Linked DNA regions of Homo sapiens: all the other regions are linked to region 2. Evidence: promoter capture Hi-C in 16 types of primary human blood cells and fetal thymus (Javierre and others, 2016). All regions are on one chromosome and are shown on one strand. Each heading gives the region's core, a stretch centred on a gene start or on the middle of the fragment in contact. The rest is flanking DNA. Distances are from core to core; before and after follow the strand shown.

Evidence for each region. Contacts are between HindIII fragments. The CHiCAGO score rates a contact against its expected background, and 5 or more counts as called.
Region 1: the fragment with the promoter of GZMH here is called in contact with a fragment that was not itself captured in region 2 in 1 of 17 cell types (M2 macrophages); the score reaches 5.3 in M2 macrophages.
Region 3: the fragment with the promoter of GZMB here is called in contact with a fragment that was not itself captured in region 2 in 3 of 17 cell types (M0 macrophages, M1 macrophages and M2 macrophages); the score reaches 7.9 in M0 macrophages.

The regions. Positions count from the first base shown.
Region 1 is chr14:24,606,993-24,611,116 of GRCh38, reverse strand. GZMH (granzyme H) reads left to right here and starts at 1,432. Exons shown (of 5, transcript NM_033423.5): 1 at 1,432-1,558; 2 at 2,705-2,852; 3 at 3,370-3,505; 4 at 3,711-3,968. The coding sequence starts at 1,504. The HindIII fragment of the contact is 2,736 bases long and covers 1-2,544 here.
Region 2 is chr14:24,468,073-24,472,371 of GRCh38, reverse strand. All of the region lies in intron 2 of LOC101927045 (a long non-coding RNA gene), which reads right to left. Among named protein-coding and RNA genes, the nearest start is that of SDR39U1, 27 kb to the right of the region's middle. The HindIII fragment of the contact is 2,537 bases long and covers 773-3,309 here.
Region 3 is chr14:24,631,941-24,635,925 of GRCh38, reverse strand. GZMB (granzyme B) reads left to right here and starts at 1,736. Exons shown (of 5, transcript NM_004131.6): 1 at 1,736-1,820; 2 at 2,864-3,011; 3 at 3,467-3,602; 4 at 3,808-3,985. The coding sequence starts at 1,766. GZMH-AS1 (GZMH and GMZB antisense RNA 1) reads right to left here and starts at 2,824. Exons shown (of 3, transcript XR_007064087.1): 1 at 2,578-2,824; 2 at 1-1,630. RefSeq lists an enhancer at 1,158-2,357. The HindIII fragment of the contact is 9,884 bases long and covers 1-3,985 here.

The sequences.
Region 1 (4,124 bases), core at 183-2,682, 140 kb before region 2:
GAAGGAAACATGCTTAAGCATTAATAATGATCTCCGGTGGTAGAATTTTTGGTAAGTTTAATTTTATCATTTACATGTTCCTACTTAACTATACATATATATTTATATATATTCATATACATAAATATACAAACATATGTATATATACACATTTTTGTTTATGGACAGCCTATGACTGTGAGCCAAGGGACATCAGAGACATGGCTCTCTGGAAACTGAGAGAATACTTAGTGGACAGTTTTTTGTTTGTTTGTTTGTTTGTTTTTGAGATGGAGTCTCGCTCTGTCACCCAGGCTGGAGTGCAGTGGCGCGATCTCAGCTCACTGCAAGCTCCACCTGGGTTGACGCCATTCTCCTGCCTCCGCCTCCCAAGTAGCTGGAACTACAGGAGCCCGCCACCACGCCCGGCTAATTTTTTGTATTTTTAGTAGAGATGGGGTTTCACCATGTTAACCAGGATGGTCTCGATCTCCTGACCTCGTGATCCACCCGTCTTGGCCTCCCAAAGTGCTAGGATTACAGGCATGAGCCACCGCGCCCGGCCTTAGTGAACAATTATTATCAGGATGATCAGCATCCATTTTTCCATCACCTGGCAACAACAACTAGCATTTCTCAAGGGAAATCCCCTCCTCATTCATAAGCACCATAGATGGAGTGGAACAGTCCCCACCTCAGCTTAAGGAGGGCTAAATAACCAAAGCATAAAGCAATCAGTCCACTACACTTCAGTGGACCCAATGATGACTCATTTTGGTTCAATAAATATCAAGTCCAGAACTTTTGTGCAGAACTGTGGAATAAAAAAAGTTATCTTTGTCACAGAATATTTATATTTAAAGAGGGGATTCTAAATATCCCAAAAATATGAATCTGAGATAGTGGTAAGATAGGAATGGGTTGCCATTTGCAGTATTTGTTGGGTGTGTGCAACTCTGCATACTGCTAAGGCAAGTCCAGCCTCCGTCTCACACCAACAGGCAGATTTCCCCACCACGGCCCTTACCATCTTGTGCTCTAACCCCAGATTTTCAGTCTACTCTTGCTAACCATCAATTCTTCAAGGGCAAGAGCCATGTCTCTCATATCCCTGGATCTGGCTTGCTAAATAATTATTCATGATTTTATCTGAGTAGAAAAAGAGCCAAGAACTGAGAAAAGGAGACATTCTTGGTTCTCAGTCACTGAGGAGCTTCTGCAGTACCAGCCTTTCTGCTAGCTGCAGCCACAGCTTCAACAGCTCCACCTCCTTGTTCTTTATTCTTGCTTTCACCTTGTTACTCAGCAGCAGGGGTGTAAATGTGACAGTGCCATGTCAACTTAAACCAAACCAGATAATTTTAATAAACCACCTTCTATAATGACACCCATCAAAACCAGAAGGGGACAAGTCTAGGAGGTCTCTGAGTTTACTGTACCCATCCCTCCTTCATCTCCCTCCAGCATTTGTTTCTGGAAGGAGTCAACACCAACAGCTCTGACCTGGGCAGCCTTCCTGAGAAAATGCAGCCATTCCTCCTCCTGTTGGCCTTTCTTCTGACCCCTGGGGCTGGGACAGGTAAGTGACTATCCCTATTCCAGAGGCCTGAACCCATCTTATAAGATACCCTGTACCCATGAGCACTGGTCAGGAATTTTCCTCAATCTGAGCCCACCTCCCATTCCACACCCAGACTTATAAATCTGAGGCTAGATAGACACTCAGCAAAGATCGAAAAATGAAGGGTGTTCCCTAAAAGGTTTAATGGGTGTTAGCCTCTCCCTAGACCTCTCCTTTATGACCTGGAGTGTGGATTGTTCTTAGAAAGGCATTTGGTAGGGAATGTGAAGCTAAAAAAGATAAGTAATTATTACTCTACACTCCAACCCAGGAAAGAGGAGCTCAGACACCAAGTTGCAGTCATAGGAGTTGTTACTGGACTCAGCTTAAGAACCACTTATTCAGTGCCCCCACCCAGTCACCCCTGCCAGGAGGGAAGCCCATGGTGCAACTGATCTCAGAGATGGCAAGATGACTGTGTCCATAGCTCTCCCATTACCTTGGCTCCACCTGGGCTTTGCGATTCATTTTTAGTTGATTTCTCCACTTCCTTCTGCCTTTGCAGGCCCTCAGCTACTCCACTGACCTGGTGATAACCCCCTCTAACATCCCTGAGGTCCTGAATCCCACCAGCACTACCCCCACTAAACCTCAGCCAAAGGCTAATTGGAGGCTATTCATTTATGCACCAAACAACACTTACTGAGAACCTAGAATGTGTTCAGCCCTGGCACATGAGAATTTTAGAAAATCCAACTCCAGAAGCTCATGGGTAGATCATTAGAAAATGGCACCAATCAGGAGGACAGCAGAGGCTCAGAGGAATCAGAGAGACTCACTAAAAAGGAGGAGCCTGGGAAGTCCTGTCCAGGATCCTCTGGGGCTCTACCACTGTGAAAATAGATCTTTCTTCCTCCATGTGTGTTTCTGCAGTAGGATGCAGAAGTCAAGCACTGTCCATTCTTTCTGAGAGAAGGTTCTGAGACTTAAAGTTCAGAAAAGCTTGCTCTGCCTGCAAGGAGTACTGCCTGCAGAGCTCAGGAGGACCCCTCCCTCACTGTCTGCAGCACACAAAACACTTCACCCTCAATCACTGTCGTCCTAAGCCTTCTCTCCTGACTGCAGCCATCCCCAGCTACTTTATCTTCCAGTCTTTCCTTTCAGAGGAGATCATCGGGGGCCATGAGGCCAAGCCCCACTCCCGCCCCTACATGGCCTTTGTTCAGTTTCTGCAAGAGAAGAGTCGGAAGAGGTGTGGCGGCATCCTAGTGAGAAAGGACTTTGTGCTGACAGCTGCTCACTGCCAGGGAAGGTAAGGAGCAGCACCAGCTCACCTCCTGAGTTCCCCCTACAGGGACCCTTGTTTTCTCCTGGGGACTGCAGCCCAGGGGAGCTTCCAGAGTTCCTGGTAACACAAGCCCATGAAAGCTCATCGGAGCAGCCACCTGGGAATAGGACTAAGATGATGAAAGGCTGAGAAATAGGACAGGGTCAGAGGGTCAGAGGGTCAGAGGTCAGAGCAAGTGGCATGGTTTCACACACTGGCCCAATAAGGCAGTAGTAAAGGTTGAATCCATGCATTAAGGATCAAAATGCAAACTCGAGCAATTTCATGATATTTCCTGAAGGCAAGAGAGAGCCCCCAGAAGCCCTACTCTTCATGTCTTTGTGAAGTAGAGGGCACAGTCACTCAGCCCTGGAGCCCTCCTGTCCCTTCAACTTCCCCTCAGCTGCAGCCCTACCCTGCCACAGCTGTCATCTGCTCTTCACTGCTCCTGGGCTCTATCCCCTGTGACTCCACCCCCATCCTCACTCTGCTCTCTGTGCAGCTCCATAAATGTCACCTTGGGGGCCCACAATATCAAGGAACAGGAGCGGACCCAGCAGTTTATCCCTGTGAAAAGACCCATCCCCCATCCAGCCTATAATCCTAAGAACTTCTCCAACGACATCATGCTACTGCAGGTGAGGCACACTCCTGCCACTCTTGCTCTTCTTGGTCCAGTTGGTTCCACTCCCACTGGGATGCCGGCCCTTTCCTCCTTTCCATCCTGACCTCTTGGTCAGTTCCTGTGCCTTAGAGGAGAGGGAAGATTGTGCAGCCCCATCACTGTGTCGGGGCCCAGAAGGCCATTGCCTGACCTGGACTTTCTTGCTTCTTCCCCACCAGCTGGAGAGAAAGGCCAAGTGGACCACAGCTGTGCGGCCTCTCAGGCTACCTAGCAGCAAGGCCCAGGTGAAGCCAGGGCAGCTGTGCAGTGTGGCTGGCTGGGGTTATGTCTCAATGAGCACTTTAGCAACCACACTGCAGGAAGTGTTGCTGACAGTGCAGAAGGACTGCCAGTGTGAACGTCTCTTCCATGGCAATTACAGCAGAGCCACTGAGATTTGTGTGGGGGATCCAAAGAAGACACAGACCGGTTTCAAGGTTGGGTTTCCAGCCTCTACCCAGAAAGACCACAGGGAGAGAGGAACTTGAGGGAGTTCTGGGGTATGACAGTGGCCAGATCTTTATGCTCTCAGCCCAGAGCTTGGGCAGCCTGTGTCCCCCTGGAATCTAGTCTTTAGTCCACTCCTTGGGTGG
Region 2 (4,299 bases), core at 792-3,291:
ATATTAAACCTCCGGTTCTCTCTCAACACAGTCCAAAGAGACCTTTGCATCTGGACATTTCACAGATCATCAGATGGATCCGCTATATTGACGACATGGACTACAAAGAGGCACAGTGCCCGGCAGGCCTCTTTGGATTTTGCACATAGCATATAACACTCTTGGGAATACTGCTCCAGCCCATTTAATGGGTTTTCTCAGAAGGCTGCTGTCAGCTTTTCAGAGGATCTCCCAAAACAAGAGAGTCCTGCGGCATGTTCATCCTGCTGTATGAGCAGCCCTGGCCCGTAATCATATGACCCAGCAGATTCCATGGGTGCTAAAGGTAGCCATGACAGATAAGGGTGGGCACCTCTGAAATGACTGACAAGCCCTCATAAGTGAATTATAGCACAGACCTCTAGGGTTCCATAGTAAGGTTATGCCATATGTAGCAGAGAACTATTTACCATATGAAAAGTAGTTCCCAGGGTGCTACTGGGCCCTAGCAGACACTGAATATCTGACCATGGGACATAAGGGTGACTGTGTGATCACAGCTGTCCATCATGAGCTGAATCATATCAGAACCACCAAGTCATAGTATAAGGCAAGCACTCCTAGGGACCAACGTGGTAAATTTGGCTTTTCTGTCCCTACAATTTTAGGTCCCACTTAATAAAGGTCCTCATTTCCAAGCACAGAGTGGGGGATTTGCTTTCACCAGGGCCAGGGATACAATAAGGGTTTCACTAAAAAATAAAGTTACGGCTGCCAACTGTCATGTCAAGCTTCTTTTGACAGTAGATCTCTAGGCAACAGTGAAGTTACTAAATGACCCTGGTTATCATGAAGAGATCAAGTTGTTGCCACAAAACAATGTAATTGTGGCCCAGAAAGCAGTACAAGACACTTCTTGATGCTTCTACCCAGTGATAACTATAACACACAATTGCAGAAATCCTGCCTTAACAATGGCACGGTAACCTTAGAGATAAAGATCCGATTTGCCTTATTGAATAAACAACCTAAACCATCAGAAGTGCTTGCCAGGGAGTTAGGGTAGGGAATGCAGAAAAGGTGCTAAAGGAAGATAATGACTGTTAATAATGACCTCAGGACTCACTGTAAAAGTATGGACTGTAGCGAATGGAAGAAAATTTTTGCAGTCTACCCATCTGACAAAGAGCTAATATCCAGAATCTACAAAGAACTTAAACAAATTTACAAGAAAAAAACAACCCCATCAAAAAGTGGGCAAAGGATATGAACAGACACTTCTCAAAAGAAGACATTTATGCAGCCAACAGACACATGAAAAAACGCTCATCATCACTGGTCATCAGAAAAATGCAAATCAAAACCACAATGAGATACCATCTCACACCAGTTAGAAAGGCGATCATTAAAAAGTCAGGAAACAACAGATGCTGGAGAGGATGTGGAGAAATAGGAACGCTTTTACACTCTTGGTGGGAGTGGAAACTAGTTCAACCATTGTGGAAGGGAGTGTGGTGATTCCTCATGGATCTAGAACTAGAAATACCATTTGACCCAGCCATCCCATTACTGGGTATATACCCAAAGGATTATAAATCATGCTAGTATAAAGACACATGCACACTTATGTTTATTTCAGCACTATTCACAATAGCAAACACTTGGAACAAACCCAAATGTCAATCAATGATAGACTGGATTAAGAAAATGTGGCACATATACATCATGGAATACTATACAGTCATAAAAAAGGATGAGTCCATGTTCTTTGTAGGGACATGGATGAAGCTGGAAACCATCATTCTGAGCAAACTATCACAAGGACAGAAAACCAAACACTGCATATTCTCACTCATAGGTGGGAATCGAACAATGAGAACACTTGGACACAGGGTGGGGAACATCACACACAGGGGCCTGTCGTGGGGTGGGGGGCAGGGGGAGGGATAGCATTAGGAGAAATACCTAATATAAGTGACGAGTTAATGGGTGCAGCAAATCAACGTAGCACATGTATATCTATGTAACAAACCTGCACATTGTGCACATGTACCCTAGAACTTAATGTATAATAAAAATAAAATAAAATTATGAAAAAAAGTATGGACTGTAGCTTGTCCCTATAAAAATATTTTTTAAGATGCTATTAATATTTGTATGACATTTTCATTTTTAAATTTTGTTATTGATATATAATTGTACATATTTATGGAGTACATACATGGTGATGTTTTGATACATATAATGTATAGTGGTCAGGTCAGGGTAATTAGCATATCCATCATCTAAAACATCATTTCTTCGTGTTGAGGACAGTCAATATCCTCCTTCTAGCTATTTGAAACTATATATTATTGTTAACTATAGTTATCCTATGGTGCTATAGAACCCTAGAACTCATTCTTGCTATCTAGCTCTAATTTTGTATCCTTTAACAAATCTCCTCCTCTCCCCACCCCCTTCTCTAGTATCTAGTACCCTCTTGTTCTACTTTTTACTTCTATGAGATCAACTTTTCTTTAGCTTCCCAAATGAGTGAGAACATGTGGTGTTTAACTTTCTGTTCCTGGCTTATTTCACTTAACATAATGTCCTCTAGTTCTATCCATGCCATTGCAAATGAAAGGATTTCATTCTTTGTTATGGCTGAATGTGGCTTGATGAATTTATTCCATTGTGTACATATACCACATTTTCTTTATCCATTCATCTGTTGTTGGACACCTAGGTTGATTATATATCTTGGCTTATTGTGAATAGTGCTGAAATAAACTTAGGGATGCACATGTTTCTTCAATATACTGATTTCCTTTCCTTTGGATAAATGCCCAGTAGTGGGATTGTTAGATCATGTGGTAGTTCTGTTTGTAGTTTCTTGAGGAACCTCCATACTTTTCTCCATAGTGGCTGTACTAGTTCACATTCCCACCAACAGTATATAAGAGTTCCCTTTACTCCACATCCTCGCCAGCATTTGTTATTTTTTGTCTTTTTGGTAATAGCCACTCTAACTGCAGTGAGATGATACCTCATTGTGGTTTTGATTTACCTTTCCCTGGTGATTAGCAATGTTGAGTATCTTTTAAATATTTGTTGACCATTTGTTTGTCTTCTTTTCAGAACTGTCTGTGTTTGGATCGTTTGCCCATGTTTTAATCATTTTGGGGTGGGTTTTTTTATGCTATTGAGATTTTTAGTTCCTTGTATATTCTGGATATTAATCTTCTGTCAGATGAATTGTTTACAAAAATTTCCCCCCATACTGTAGGTTGTATTTTTACTCTGTTGTCTTTTCCTTTTGTGTAGGGTTTCCTTTGCTGTATAGAAGCTTTTTAGTTTGATATAATCCCACTTGTTTATTTTGCTTTTGTTGCCTGTGCTTTTGAGGTCTTATTCATAAAATCTTTTCACAGAGCAATGTCCTGAAGTGTTTCCACTATGTTTTCTTCTAGTAGTTTTGTAGTTTCATGTCTTATATTTAGATCTTTGATCCACTGTGAGTTGATTTTCATATAGGGTGAGAGGTGGGAGTCTAGTTTCATTCTTCTGCATATGGATATCAAGTTTTTCCAGCACCATTTATTGAAGAGGCTGTCCTTTCACTAATGAGAGTTCTTGGTGCCTTTGTCAAAAAGTAGTTGGCTGTAGTTACGTGGATTAATTTCTTGGCTCTCATTTCTGTTCCATCAGTCTATGTGTCTATTGTTTATGCTAGTACCATGCTATTTTGGTTGCTTCAACTTTGCAGTATATTTTGAAGTCTAGTAGTGTGAAGCCTCCAGCTTTGTGCTTTTTGTTCAAGATTACTTTGGCTATTTGAGGTCTTTTGTGGTTGCATAAAAATTTTAGGATTTTTTTCTATTTCTGTGAAAAATGTCACTGGTATTTCTATAGGGATTGCAATGAATCTGTGTGATTAACATTTAAATCAGTAGACTTTAAGTAAAGCAAATTATCCTCCATAACATAGGTGGGCCTTATCCCATAAGTTGAGGACCTGAAAAGCAAAGACTGAGGTTCCCCAAAGTAGAAAGAATTCTCCTCAAGACAGCAACATAGAAATACTGCCTGAGTTTCCAGCCTGCTGCCCTGAGGAATTCAGATTCAAGACTCCAGCATCAACTCTTGAACTCTTATCTGAATTTCCAGCCTGCTGGCTTGCCCTACAGATTTCAGACTTGCTAGCTTCCACAGCTTGAGCCAATTCTTTAATCTCTCTCTCCTCTCTCCTCTCTCCTCTCTCTCTCTCTGTCTCTCTCTCTCTCTCTCTGTGTATTACAAATAATATCTATCCTATTGGGTCAGTTTCTCTAGAGAACC
Region 3 (3,985 bases), core at 487-2,986, 160 kb before region 2:
AATTTTACCTCAATTTTTTAAATGGGTCATAAACTTATGTTTAGCATAATCCCCTTTTAATTTTAAAAAATGCAGATATTACATGAGAAAAAATGTGCTAGAGCATATTTCAAGACATTAAAGATGGTTATCAGTGAATGATGAGAAATTAGGTAATGTTTATTATTTTCGCTTTGCTAAAATTATTTAAAAATTACTTGCATATTAAATTTTTTAATGCCTAGGAAAGAAAGACTATAGTTGTATTGACTAAGATTTCTACGAGCATGGGGAAAATGCTTAATTTGTAGGGTTAATCAAGGATAAAATAAATTGCATTGTATGTACAATGTGATCCCAAGTATTTAAAACACACTGCTTATGGTAACAGTCAGTCTGTGGGAGACAGGTTAAAAAGTGATATTTTCCCTTCCTACTTTCCAAATTTTCTTAACAAACATATATTATGACTATAATCAGAAAAAATTATTTTTAAAACGTCTACTATGGGGCAAGCTAGGTTCAAAAAATAGAAGTTTGATAAATGTAGTTGGCTTGCTATTGACAAGGAAGACGTTTACACTGGAATTCTATATTTTGAGATATACCATTCCTCATAGAAAAATTTCCTCACAGAAAATATAAAGGTGGAAACAAATCACAAGAATCGAACCATGTAGAGAGACTTAGTTGTCTTTTAACAGAATTGGGCACGGGCTGTTCAGAAACAACAATCTTTCACATCCATTATAATGATAGCATTAGTGTAGTTTGTTTAGCAAATGTTTACTGTGAGCCTGTTATGTGCTGAGCCTGCTATGTAAGAAGTGTGGCTCTCTGGACAGGAGACAGAATACTAAACAACACAACTACTGATCTTTGGCTGCCTGGCATGCTTCCTCACTTCATATGGTATCAGCAATTTAGCACCACAAACGTCCTTTAGAGAACCAGCCCTTTCTCATTCTTGGTTCTAGTGGCTTGAGTAGACTGACCCCAGCCTACCCAAAGTGGATTTGACTCCTAGCAATTCATTAATCTAGCCCAATAAAATGTCAAGTACAGGACTTTTATTGAAAGCATTCAGAAAAGAGGTGGACTCTCACACTAAACATTTGTAACTAAATAAGGGATGTTAGAAATTCTCTAGAAAGGAAGCTATGATAATAAATGGGTTGCTAGATGGGTCTAGTAGATGGTGGCCATGCTTTGTTACTGCCTTGTGTATTGTGCTACCATAGCCCTCCCCAAACTGTACTCTGGCTCCTGGCATTTCCGTCTCTTCAACCAGATGGTCAGCTCTCTAAGTGAAGGAGACACATCTCCAACATGCTTGGTTCTAGCACAACAGAAGGGCTCAAACACATACCTGCTAAAGAAACTATCCTGATGGATTTAGCAGCATGGCCATGAGGCATTGGCGGTTCTATCACTGGGAACTCAGGTTTCTGGTGCTCCAGTACCTCTACTGGCTGATACCACATCCTACAATTCACTTCATAGGCTTGGGTTCCTGCTCTGGGCTGAATAGGTGGTCCACTCTGAGTCATCAGCTGTGGGTGATGATGTGGTCACTGCATGATTCTCACACAAGCACCCAGAGGACGTCATCAGGCAGAGGCAGTGGGGGTGGGCAGCATTTACAGAAAATCTGTGATGAGACACCACAAAACCAGAGGGGAACATGAAGTCACTGAGCCTGCTCCACCTCTTTCCTCTCCCAAGAGCTAAAAGAGAGCAAGGAGGAAACAACAGCAGCTCCAACCAGGGCAGCCTTCCTGAGAAGATGCAACCAATCCTGCTTCTGCTGGCCTTCCTCCTGCTGCCCAGGGCAGATGCAGGTGAGTGACCGTCTCCACCCTCGGGGGCCCAACCCCATCCCACAGGTCTCCTGCCCTTTCTCCACATTCCTGATCCATCTATCTACCAGGAATGTTCTGAACTCCAGCTCCCATTCTACCAAGACCCCCCAAGTGTGATGCTGGATAAGCTATCAGCAGGAATGGCAGAGCAGCAGGCCATTCTCAAGAAGAGCCAGTGGGTACTATCCCTTCCCCAGAGCCCACCTTTGTCACCTGGAGAGTAGGACTTTCCTAGAAGTAAATGGCAGAGGATGGGAAACTAGAAAAGAGAAATATTAAATTATTCTAGAGTAGGCCTGGCTTCTGTTTCTGGGATAAGACAGGTGCTTCTCTCACTGTCTACTTAGGAGAGAAACCCAGAGCTCAGCTGACAGCAGAATTGGTACAATCACTGTCCTCAGAACACTGTTAATGTGTTTGCTCAGTCCCATTCTCCAACTCTGCTTTTCTTCCCTGGCCTTTGGTGGCTCCCCTCTTTCCAAGGATGAGGCACTACGGCAGGCCCCAGCTTCCCTGCTTTCTAGAATTCCACCAGCACTGCTCTACCAGCCCTCATCCAGAGGCTAACTGGAGCCAGTCCATCATGCAGCCATGAACATTTACTGGGCACCCACTACATGTCAGGCTCTAGGAAACAGGATATGACAGTATCTAGATCCCTCCACTTACACCCTGGCCATTAGAAAGCAGCACTATCCTAGACACCACAGGACTCATAAGGGTCTTGGAAACTCACCTGAAACAAAGCAAAGTCAGGAGAGGAATGATCAGGAGCCTCTGGGATTTCACTGTCCCTAAGACAGGTATGCTCGCCTTCAACTACATATGGAAGAAAGATTTACAGACCAAAGTCTGCTGTTCTTCCCTTTTTCAGAGCAGGAAATTGAAGCCCCTTCCTCCAGGCCACTCCCAACTCCAGGCTATCCCAGGCTCCCAAATGCCCAGGAGTTCTGGAGCCACTAAGCAGGTGCCCACCCAGCAGATTCCATGGGTGCCCACAAGCAGACAGACTTTTCCTTCAGGGGAGATCATCGGGGGACATGAGGCCAAGCCCCACTCCCGCCCCTACATGGCTTATCTTATGATCTGGGATCAGAAGTCTCTGAAGAGGTGCGGTGGCTTCCTGATACGAGACGACTTCGTGCTGACAGCTGCTCACTGTTGGGGAAGGTGAGGAGCAGAAAACAGCCCACACCCTCCTGGAAACACTCCACAGAGACCCCTGCCTTCTTCCCAAGGAGCTCCCTGGGCTCCTGTGAACACACATGCCAGGAGGTCTCCTTAGAGGGTGAGAAAAGGGCAGTTAAGTTTGTGGAGAGAGGGGAAGGTTGGTTCCAGAGGTGCTGCTGAAGTAAGAAACAGCAGAGTGACCAAGCCTGCCATATTTAGAACTGGGGGCATACTTTGGCATAGAATACAAACTGAAGCAATTCCACCTGTGTTTCTAGGGGGAACCGAACCCTGAGAAACCTGGTGCAATTACCAGAATTCCAATTCCTGGGGACCGACTGTCCCCTTAATTTCCCCTCAGCTGCAGCCCTGCCCCAGCTGTCACCTGCTCTTCACTGTCTCTGGGCTGTATACCCTGTGACTCCACCCCCATCCTCACTCTGCTCTCTGTGCAGCTCCATAAATGTCACCTTGGGGGCCCACAATATCAAAGAACAGGAGCCGACCCAGCAGTTTATCCCTGTGAAAAGACCCATCCCCCATCCAGCCTATAATCCTAAGAACTTCTCCAACGACATCATGCTACTGCAGGTGAGGCACACTCCTGCCACTCTTGCTCTTCTTGGTCCAGTTGGTTCCACTCCCCCTGGAATGCCGGCCCTTCCCTCCTTTCCATCCTGGCCTCTTGGTTAGTTCCTATGCCTCAGAGGAGAGGGAAGATTGTGCAGCCCCATCACTGTGTCGGGGCCCAGAAGTTCGTTGGCTGACCTGGACTTTCTTGCCTCTTCCCCACCAGCTGGAGAGAAAGGCCAAGCGGACCAGAGCTGTGCAGCCCCTCAGGCTACCTAGCAACAAGGCCCAGGTGAAGCCAGGGCAGACATGCAGTGTGGCCGGCTGGGGGCAGACGGCCCCCCTGGGAAAACACTCACACACACTACAAGAGGTGAAGATGACAGTGCAGGAAGATCGAAAGT